2 separate regions of the Homo sapiens genome follow, and region 2 is linked to region 1. The links are contacts of gene promoters, found by promoter capture Hi-C in human tissues and cell types (Jung and others, 2019). All regions are on one chromosome and are shown on one strand. Each heading gives the region's core, a stretch centred on a gene start or on the middle of the fragment in contact. The rest is flanking DNA. Distances are from core to core; before and after follow the strand shown.

Region 1 (4,851 bases), core at 1,738-4,237:
CACGAAAAACAGACAAACGAAAATGTTCCACACCAAGAGTTACTAATCATATAAATGCTATATTCCTTGGGTGGGGAGTATTCTTTTTTTTTTCCTCAGAAAACGAACTGGCTTAAGAGATTAAAATAAAACACTCAGAATACACATGATCATTTCTTGTATGGAAACAGCAACTAGAAGAAGAAAAGAATTAAGTTCCCTGGGGTCAGAATGCTGATGGATTATGTTTATCTTGTTAATTATATGATGGTGATGAGCATTATGGTTTGCATTGTCAAGAATCACTCCTTAATACTCTGTTTCAGAGGTCACAGGTGTGACCCAAGAAACTGTATTTTTCAGTCTTGACCGACAATGTTATATTTATAGCAATTTGCTATGTGTCACATGCTCTTTTAAGAATTTCACATGAATTACTTCCATTATCCCTCCTACCAACCCCGACATGTATGCTATACCCATTTTATGGTTTAAGAAGCTGAGGCAAAGAAAAGTTAAACAACTTCCCTAAAATCACAGTGAATGGCAGAGTTACAAGTCTATATAAAGATGTGTTCTAAGTGATGACCTAGAAAAAGAAAATGGACATAATTGATGACCGTTGGCTAAAAATGATGCTTCCCTGTGCAACTCCTCTCCAAAAGGCCTTAAGTATACTGACTTCTATTAAACATAGCACTTCAGTCACACATAGACTCTGTTTTATTGAGGTTTAAGAAAAATATTCGTTTGCCTTCATTGGTTATTTATTTGGTTGCTCATTTTGGAATGTGCAGCTTTATTAGTAAAAGGGGGCTTAGTGTTCTTAATGATGTAAAGGAACAAAAAAGTAACAAATCACTGGGTTTTCCTGTCTATTGCTGGCCAGGGATCTATTTCTCCTCACTTTTTTGCTTTGATGGGTGTGTGTCTGTGTGTGTGTTCCAAAAGACTCAAGCAGCTTCATGGGTTTATGGAGGCTCAGTAGACAGAAATAATGGAGTAAAAAAGGAAAATGTGAATTCATTCTGAAAAGAGTGTCTAAGAGAGGAGAGATGACAAAATCAGATATTTAATGTAGTGGAACAAATGCTGGGAGAGGCTGAGAACAAGACTTAGCAGGGCTGTTTTGATTTTCTCACAGGTATCTTATAATCACCCAGTGATGGTGGGATGTAAGTATGGAGGTTGAAGGCAGAGACACAGTATTGTAATGCTGCATTTTAGGATGACTTCAATCAAGCAAAATCAACTTTGTGTCAAGTCCTGCTTGGTGATAGCTATGAGTTAACAAAAAGGGCAGAAACTTTCAGCTACAGCATTTCCATTTATCAATAAATTTACATTGCTATAAAATTAATCATTGGATTGTCAACTGTTACATAGATGTTTCAAATGAAGTGTCTTTTCTTGTCAATAGGAATAGAAGCTTATAAAAACACAGGGACAGTGGTTTTTGCTCTTGTGGATGGCCTTTAATACCTAGCAAAACCCTGGACGTCAAGAACTGAACTGAATTTAATTGACTATATTATATTATATCAATGTATCTTTAACTTGCTCTTTGTCTATCCCTGTGACCCAAAAAGTGATGTGTCCAATTCTGGGCTATTCAATTTAAGGTTTCCACTTCTTGCTCTTTATTTGATTGAAGTTGGATGAGAGAAAATAAAGCCTATGTAATATATAATATATTGATGTTATATTCACATACACATATGCTTTTACAAAAGCAAGTTTTGGCCTAAGCTACACTTTAGAATCCTATCATTGTACTTTTATCAAATGAGGTTAGTATCTAAAAATAATAGATACAATTATTGGCAGAAATTTCTCATTAAAATAAAGAAATAAACATCAAAGGCAGGTCTGAACACAGAAAGTTTGCATCCTAAATCTTTTTTCATGGAGATCACAAATTCCCTGAAGCATCAAACATATATATATTCTGGAGATATATATATATATATATATTTTTTTTTTTGAGAGAGATATATATATATATATTTTTGAGATATATATATATATTTTCTGGATATATATATATTTTCTGGATATATATATATTCTGGACATATATATATTCTGGATATATATATCCTGGACATATATATATATATTCTGGATATATATATCCTGGACATATATATATATATATATTCTGGATATATATATATATATTCTGGATATATATATCCTGGACATATATATATATATATATATATATATATATATATTCTGGATATATATATCCTGGACATATATATATATATATATTCTGGATATATATATATTCTGGATATATATATATATTCTGGATATATATATATATATTCTGGATATATATATATATATTCTGGATATATATATCTATATATTCTGGATATATATATCCTGGACATATATATATATATTCTAGATATATATATTCTGGATATACACATATTCTGAATATAGATATAGATACAGATATAGATATAGATATATTCTGTAGTCTACTGCCCATTAGCTGAAGAAAACATGGTCACTGGCTCATATTTAAAGTAAGAGAAAAAAATTACTTCTCCTTCGGATACATTTGTCAAAGCTCCAAAGAAATAAACAATCTGTGAATAGTTCAGCACAATTATATATTTACAAAGCATAGTGGATTTAGTCTAACATTTTCCCACCTGGAAAAACTGGGCTTAAGTATCTCCGACAAACAAAAAGCAATACTGCGTTCTTCCCAATATGCCATGTCACCTTTGTAGCACTCACACACTTGCAGGGAAGGGACTCGGGGTTGGGGGTGGTTCTGATGTAGAAATTGCAGATGGAGAGCTGGGCTCTGGGGATGGAAATGGAGAGAAGCGAAAAAGAGCCTGGAGAAACGGCTGTCATATTTGCTCAGAAGAACCGCCAAATCAGAGAGCACAGAAGATTTCATTGGAGGAGCGCCTTCAACAGCAACTAATCCTGTCATACTGAAAGAAAATTGTAAATGTTCTCTCCAGAAATTGTCCGCCCATTGCAGCTAATCGAACACACACGCACGAATACAGACACGCTCTCCTGCTGTACTAAAGGCGCCAGGGCGCAAAGACCTAGGGAGCGCGCGCGGGCACACACACACACACACACACACACACAGACACACACACACTCACACACTCCAGGCTGCGGGTTGGCCAGAGCCTGGAAATCGCAGATTTCACCAGGAAATCGCCGAGGTACCCGAATAGGTGTTGCCTCCCAAAACTAATTCCTACTTCCCCAAGCACTTTGGTGAAGAAATGAATCCAGCCCAGCTCGCCGAGGCATCCAGGTCTCCATTCTATTTTGGTCTCCAGGCTCTTCGTGAAAGCCAGGTTTGAAAGTCTTGTTTGCTTCTCCTTTAGTGGTTTGGCGTGGAGGGCGGGGGCAGCGTCAATTTAACTCCAGTCTAAACCACGAACAGGTCACAGACTAGCCAAGTGGCTGAGACGAGTGTGGGGTGCGTGACTCTGCCTGCGCGCGCGCCAGCCCCGCAGCTCTCGCCAGAGCCTTGGGGTCGGTTCTCTCCCGCCTCTCCCGCCTCTCCCGCCCCACCCCTACAGTGTCTCGGCATCAACTAATCTTTTCCTTTTCTTTTGCAAGATCAAGGGAGAAAGAGAACCGGCAGCTGGCCTCGGACTCTAAGCGGTGCGCAGCTCCAGCCCGAGCGGATCGGCCCTGAACCCACAAAGGACTCCTCGCTCCTTCAAGCCTCCACCACCTCGCAGCCGGGGAGGCAACTGGAGCGAAACCAGCGACAGGTAAGGGCCCCGCGCTGTGCAGCTCTCCGCTTACCCACTCCAAGGGCCCTGGCACCAGGGGGTCTCTCCCTTCATATCCCCCCAAGCCGGAGGCTCAGGGGTCGGGGCTTGGGGGAATTGGAGGGAGGTCCTCCCCACGTGCAGATTCTCAAACGGAAACTTTGGATCCTGGGGCTTGGAGGGTTGCGAGCAGTGATGGCGGGTCTGAAAGGAAGGGGCAAACGAGGCACAGCGCGAGGCGAGGTACCCCTACGATTCCGACGGTCACTGAGTCCAGCCGAATGTGGCGAAAGCAGCCTGGGAGCTGCGCTGTCCCGGCGTCGCTCCCTATTCCAGCCCCCCATTCCCTCTACTGTTGCTGACCCCCCTCCCGCCACCCACTCCAGATGCAGCCATGGACAAGACAAGGAGAGCTTCGTCCCTCCCGCCCCTCGGGTTCCTTCCTGCTGGGGTCTGACCGCGTCTTCTGTGCGTGTGGGATGGAGGCCCGGCTCGCTCGGGCTCCGAGCTGTCCCCCGGCTCCGCTTTCGGAGCAGCCCTTGGGCGCTGGAGAGGTTTCCCATTGCGGTCTCCAGGTCATGGCCAAGGAGGAGAAGCAATTAGAATGGGGGAAAGGGTCCCAAGACAAAGGAGAGGGAAGCATTCTGCAATCCCATCCTATTTGAGCCCCGCGCAGGAGCTGGACTGTCCGCCGTGGCTGGGGGACAAGGTCTCAGCCCGAAGCTCATGAGGTACCAGACAGTGCCTGGGCTTCGCCACCTAACTCACAATGGGTCCTGAACCGCCCGGGCAGTCCCCGGGGTCGTAGACTGGGGACCGCTGCACCCCTCCCCGCCCGCAATGTCCCTTGGAGTCCGCACCTGAGGTCCCAGGCAATCGCCGCTAACTTGTAGCTCTCGGACACGGACAGGTGCGGTCCATGCCTGGTGCCGGTAGACGCGCAGAAATTCCACCTGTGCGCGCTGCCCGGCGCCCCTGGGGCCCCTCACGGGGTAAGTAGAGACTCATCTGGGAGAGGTGAAAATTCCCCAGAATTATTGACACACACGGCGGCACACCCTTTGCCTCCGTCCGCCTCCAGCATCCGCATCCCTTTC
Region 2 (4,851 bases), core at 1,273-3,772, 240 kb after region 1:
CTGGGTAGGGCATCTCTGAAAGAAAGGCAGCCACCCCAGTCAGGGGCTTATAGATAAAACTCCCATCTCCCTAGGACAGAGTACCTGGGGGAAGGGGCAGCTGTGTGCGCAGCTTCAGCAGAGTTAAATGTTCCTACCTGCCGGCTCTAAAGACAGCAGTGGATCTCCCAGCACAGTTCTCGAGCTCTGCTAAGAGACAGACTGCCTCCTCAAGTTAGCCCCTGACACCCATGCCTCCTGATTTGGAGACACCTCCCAGCAGGGGTCAACAGGCTCCTCATACAGGACAGCTCTGGCTGGCAACTGGCAAATGCCCCTCTGGGAAGAAGCTTCCAGAGGAAGGAAAAGGCAGCAATCTTTGCAGTTCTGCAGCCTCCGCTGGTGATACCCAGGCAAACAGGGTCTGGAGTGGACCTCCAGCGAACTCCAGCAGACCTGCAGTAGAGGGACTTGACTATTAGAAGGAAAACTAACAACAGAAAGGAATAGAATTAACATCAACGAAAAAGACGTCAACACAAAAACCCCATCTGAAGGTCATCAACATCAAAGACCAAAGGCAGATAAATCCACGAAGATGAGGAAAAATCAGTGAAAAACGGCTGAATATTCCAAAAACCAGAACACCTCTTCTCCAAAGGATCACAACTCCTCACCAGCAAGGGAACAAAACTGGATAGAGAATGAGTTTGACGAACTGGCAGAAGTAGGCTTCAGAAGGCAGGTAATAACAAAGTCCTCCAAGCTAAAGGAGCATGTTCTAACCCAATGCAAGGACGATAAGAACCTTGATAAAAGGTTAGAGGAATTGCTCACTAGAATAACCAATTTAGAGAAGAACATAAATGATCTGATGGAGCTGAAAAACACAGCATGAGAACTTGGTGAAGCATACACAAGCTGAATAGATCAAGTGGAAGAAATGATATCAGAGACTGAAGACCAACTTAATGAAATAAAGTGTGACAAAATCAGAGAAAAAAAGAATGAAAAGGAACAAACAAAGCCTCCAAGAAATATGGAACTATGTGAAAAGACCAAACCTACATTTGATTGGTGTACCAGAAAGTGATGAGGAGAATGGAACCAAGTTGAAAACACTCTTCAAGATATCATCCAGAACTTCCCCGACCTAGGAAGACAGGCCAACATTCAAATTCAAGACATACAGAGAACACCACAAAGATAATCCTCGAGAAGAGCAACCCCAAGACACATAATCGTTGGATTCACCAAGGTTGAAATGAAAGAAAAAATGTTAAGGACAGCCAGAGAGAAAGGTCGGGTTACCCACAAAGGGAAGCCCATCAGACTAACAATGGATCTCTCTGCAGAAACCTTACAAGCCAGAAGGGAGTGGGGGCCAATATTCAACATTTTTAAAGAATTTTCAACCCAAAATTTCATATCCAGCCAAACTAAGCTTCACCCTAACATCACAATTAGAAAAACTAGAGAAGCAAGAGCAAACATATTTAAAAGTTAGAAGAAGACAAGAAATAACTAAATTCAGAGCAGAACTGAAGGAGAGAAGACATGAAAAACCCTTCAAAAAATCAATGAATCCAGGAGCTGGATTGTTGAAACGATTAACAAAATAGATAGACTGCTAGCCAGACTACTAAAGAAGAAAAGAGAGAAGAAACAAATAGACACAATAAAAATGATAAAGGGGAGATCACCACTGATCCCACAGAAATAAAAACTAACATCTGAGAATACTATAAACACCTTAACGCAAATAAACCAGAGCATCTAGAAGAAATGGATAAATTCCTGGACATATACACCCTCCCAAGACTAAATCAGGAAGAAGTCGAATCCCTGAATAGACCAATAACAAGGTCTGAAATTGAGGCAGTAATTAATAGCCTACCAACCAAACAACAACAACAACAAAAAAAAGCCCAGGAAGAGATGGCTTCACAGCCGAATTCTACCAGAGGTACAAAGAGGAGCTGGTACCATTCCTCCTGAAACTATTGCAAACAACAGGAAAAGAGGTACTCCTCTCTAACTCATTTTATAAAGCCAGCATCATCCTGAAACCAAAACCTGGAAGAGACACATCAAAAAAACAAAATTTCAGGCCAATATCCCTGATGAACATCGACGCAAAAATCCTCAGTAAAATACTGGCAAACCAAATCCAGCAGCACATCAAAAAGCTTATCCACCACAACCAAGTTGGCTTCATCTCTGGGATGCAAGGCTGGTTCAACATACACAAATCAATAAACGTAATCCATCACATAAACAGAACCAATGACAATTATCTCAATAGATGCAGAAAAGGCCTTCAATAAAATTCAACACCCCTTCATGCTAACAACTCTCAATAAACTAGGTATTGATGGAATGTATCTCAAAATATTAAGAGCTATTTATGACAAACCCTCAGCCAATATCATACTGAATGGGCAAAATCTGGAAGCATTCCCTTTGAAAACCAGCACAAGACAAGGATGCCCTCCCTCACCACTCCTATTCAACATAGTATTGGATGTTCTGGCCAGGGCAATCAGGCAAGAGGAAGAAATAAAGGGTATTCAAATATAAAGAGAAGACGTCAAATTGTCTCTGTTTGCAGATGGCATGATTGTAAATTTAGAAAACCCCATTGCCTCAGCCCAAAATCTCCTGAAGTTGATAAGCAACTTCAGCAAAGTCTAAGGACACAAAATCAACATGCAAAAATCACAAGCATTCCTATACACCAATGATAGACAAACAGAGAGCCAAATCATGAGTGAACTCCCATTCACAATTGCTACAAAGAGATTCAAATACCTAGGAATACAACTTACAAGGGATGTGAAGGACCTCTTCAAGGAGAACTACAAACTACTTCTCAAGGAAATAAGAGAGGACACAAACAAATGGTAAAACATTCCATGCTCGTGGATAGGAAGAATCAATATCATGAAAATGGCCATACTGCCCAAAGTAATTTATAGATTCAATGCTATTCCCGTCAAGCTACCATTGACTTTCTTCATAGAATTTGAAAAAAACTACTTTAAATTTCATATGGAACCAAAAAAGAGCCCATATAGCCAAGACAATCCTAAGCAAAAAGAACAAAGCTGGAGGCATCACATTACCTGACCTTAAACTATACTACAAGGCTACAGTAACCAAAACAGCATGCTACTTGCACCAAAACAGACATATAGACCAACGGAACAGAACAGAGGCCCCAGAAATAACGCCACACATCTGCAACCATCTGATCTTTGACAAACCTGACAAATACAAGCAATGGGGAAAGGTTACCTATTTAATAAATGGTGTTGGGAAAACTGGCTAGCCATATGCAGAAAACTGAAACTGGAACCCTTCCTTACAACTTATACAAAAATTAACTCAAGATGTATTAAAGACTTAAATGTTAGACCTAAAACCATAAAAACCCTAGAAGAAAACCTAGGCAATACCATTCAGGACACAGGCATGGGCAAGGACTTCATGACTAAAATACCAAAAGCAAGGGCAACAAAAGCCAAAATTGACAAATGGGATCTAATTAAACTAAAGAGATTCTGCATAGCAAAAGAAACTATTATCAGAGTGAACAGGCAACCTACAGAATGGGAGGAAATTTTTGCCATCTACTGATCTGACAAAGGGCAAATATCCAGAATCTACAAGGAACTTAAATAAATTTACAAGAAAAAACAAACCACCCCATCAAGAAGTTGGTGAAGGACATGAACAGAAACTTCTCAAAAAAGTCATTTATGTGGCCAAGAAACTATGAAAAAAAGCTCATCATCACTGGTCATTAGAGAAATGCAAATCAAAACCACAATAAGATACCATCTCACTCCAGTTAAAATGGCAATCATTAAAAAGTCAGGAAACGACAGATGCTGGAGAGGATGTGGAGAAATAGGAACACTTTTACACTATTGCTGGGAGTGTAAATTAGTTCAACCATTGTGGAAGACAGTATGGCAATTCCTCAAGGATCTAGAACCAGAAATACCATTTGACCCAGCAATCCCATTACTGGGTATATGCCCAAAGGATTATAAATCATTCTACTATAAAGACACATGCACACATATGTTTATTGCAGCACTATTCACAATACCAAAGACTCGGAACCAACCCAAATGCCCATCAATGATAGACTGAACAAAGAAAATGTGGCACATATACACCATGGAATACTATGCAGCCATAAAAAAGGATGAGTTCATGTCCTTTGCAGGTATATGGATAAGCTGGAAACCATCATTCTCAGCAAACTAACACGGAAACAGAAAACCAAACACCACATGTTCTCACTCATAAGTGGGAGTTGAACAATGAGAACACATGGACACAGAGAAGGGAACATCACACACTGGGGCCTGTCAGGAGGTAGGGGGCTAGGGGAGAAATAGCATTAGGAGAAATACCTAACGTAGGTGACGGGTTGATGGGTGCAGCAAACCACTATGGCATGTGTATACCTATGTAACAAACCTGCATGTTCTGTACATGTATCCCAGAACTTAAAGTATAATTTTAAAAAACTTTATTTTCCCTCAATACTTCCTTGTTTTATTATTTTTTGCCATTTAGGATGTCCATTTTTGAAATAATTCAGAATAATTATTATAAATATTACATATATTGTAGTGAGATCATGGTTTTCAAGACTTTTGAACCATTTAAAGCTCTTCTTCCCTGTCTAACGTGTCTAGGATAGTATACATACCTAATTCTTCAGTCAGCTTTTATTATACCTCCTGACTTCTCTACTTTTAGCTGCCTGCATATCTCCTCATTCTCAGCATCCTCTGTGTGCCACTGGTTTCCTTATTGGATCAAATGTCTAAACCAATGATCCCAAGCATTCAC

What was found. Contacts are between HindIII fragments. The study calls those that stand out against the background at their distance.
Region 2: a fragment that was not itself captured here is called in contact with the fragment with the promoter of CHRM2 in region 1 in 1 of the 25 tissues and cell types used here (pancreas).

Annotation. Positions count from the first base shown.
Region 1 is chr7:136,865,665-136,870,515 of GRCh38, forward strand. CHRM2 (cholinergic receptor muscarinic 2) reads left to right here and starts at 2,988. Exons shown (of 4, transcript NM_001006630.2): 1 at 2,988-3,328; 2 at 3,597-3,754. RefSeq lists an enhancer at 3,667-4,429. The HindIII fragment of the contact is 6,446 bases long and covers 458-4,851 here.
Region 2 is chr7:137,103,803-137,108,653 of GRCh38, forward strand. All of the region lies in intron 1 of LOC349160 (a long non-coding RNA gene), which reads right to left. Among named protein-coding and RNA genes, the nearest start is that of MIR490, 200 kb to the left of the region's middle. The HindIII fragment of the contact is 5,588 bases long and covers 1-4,851 here.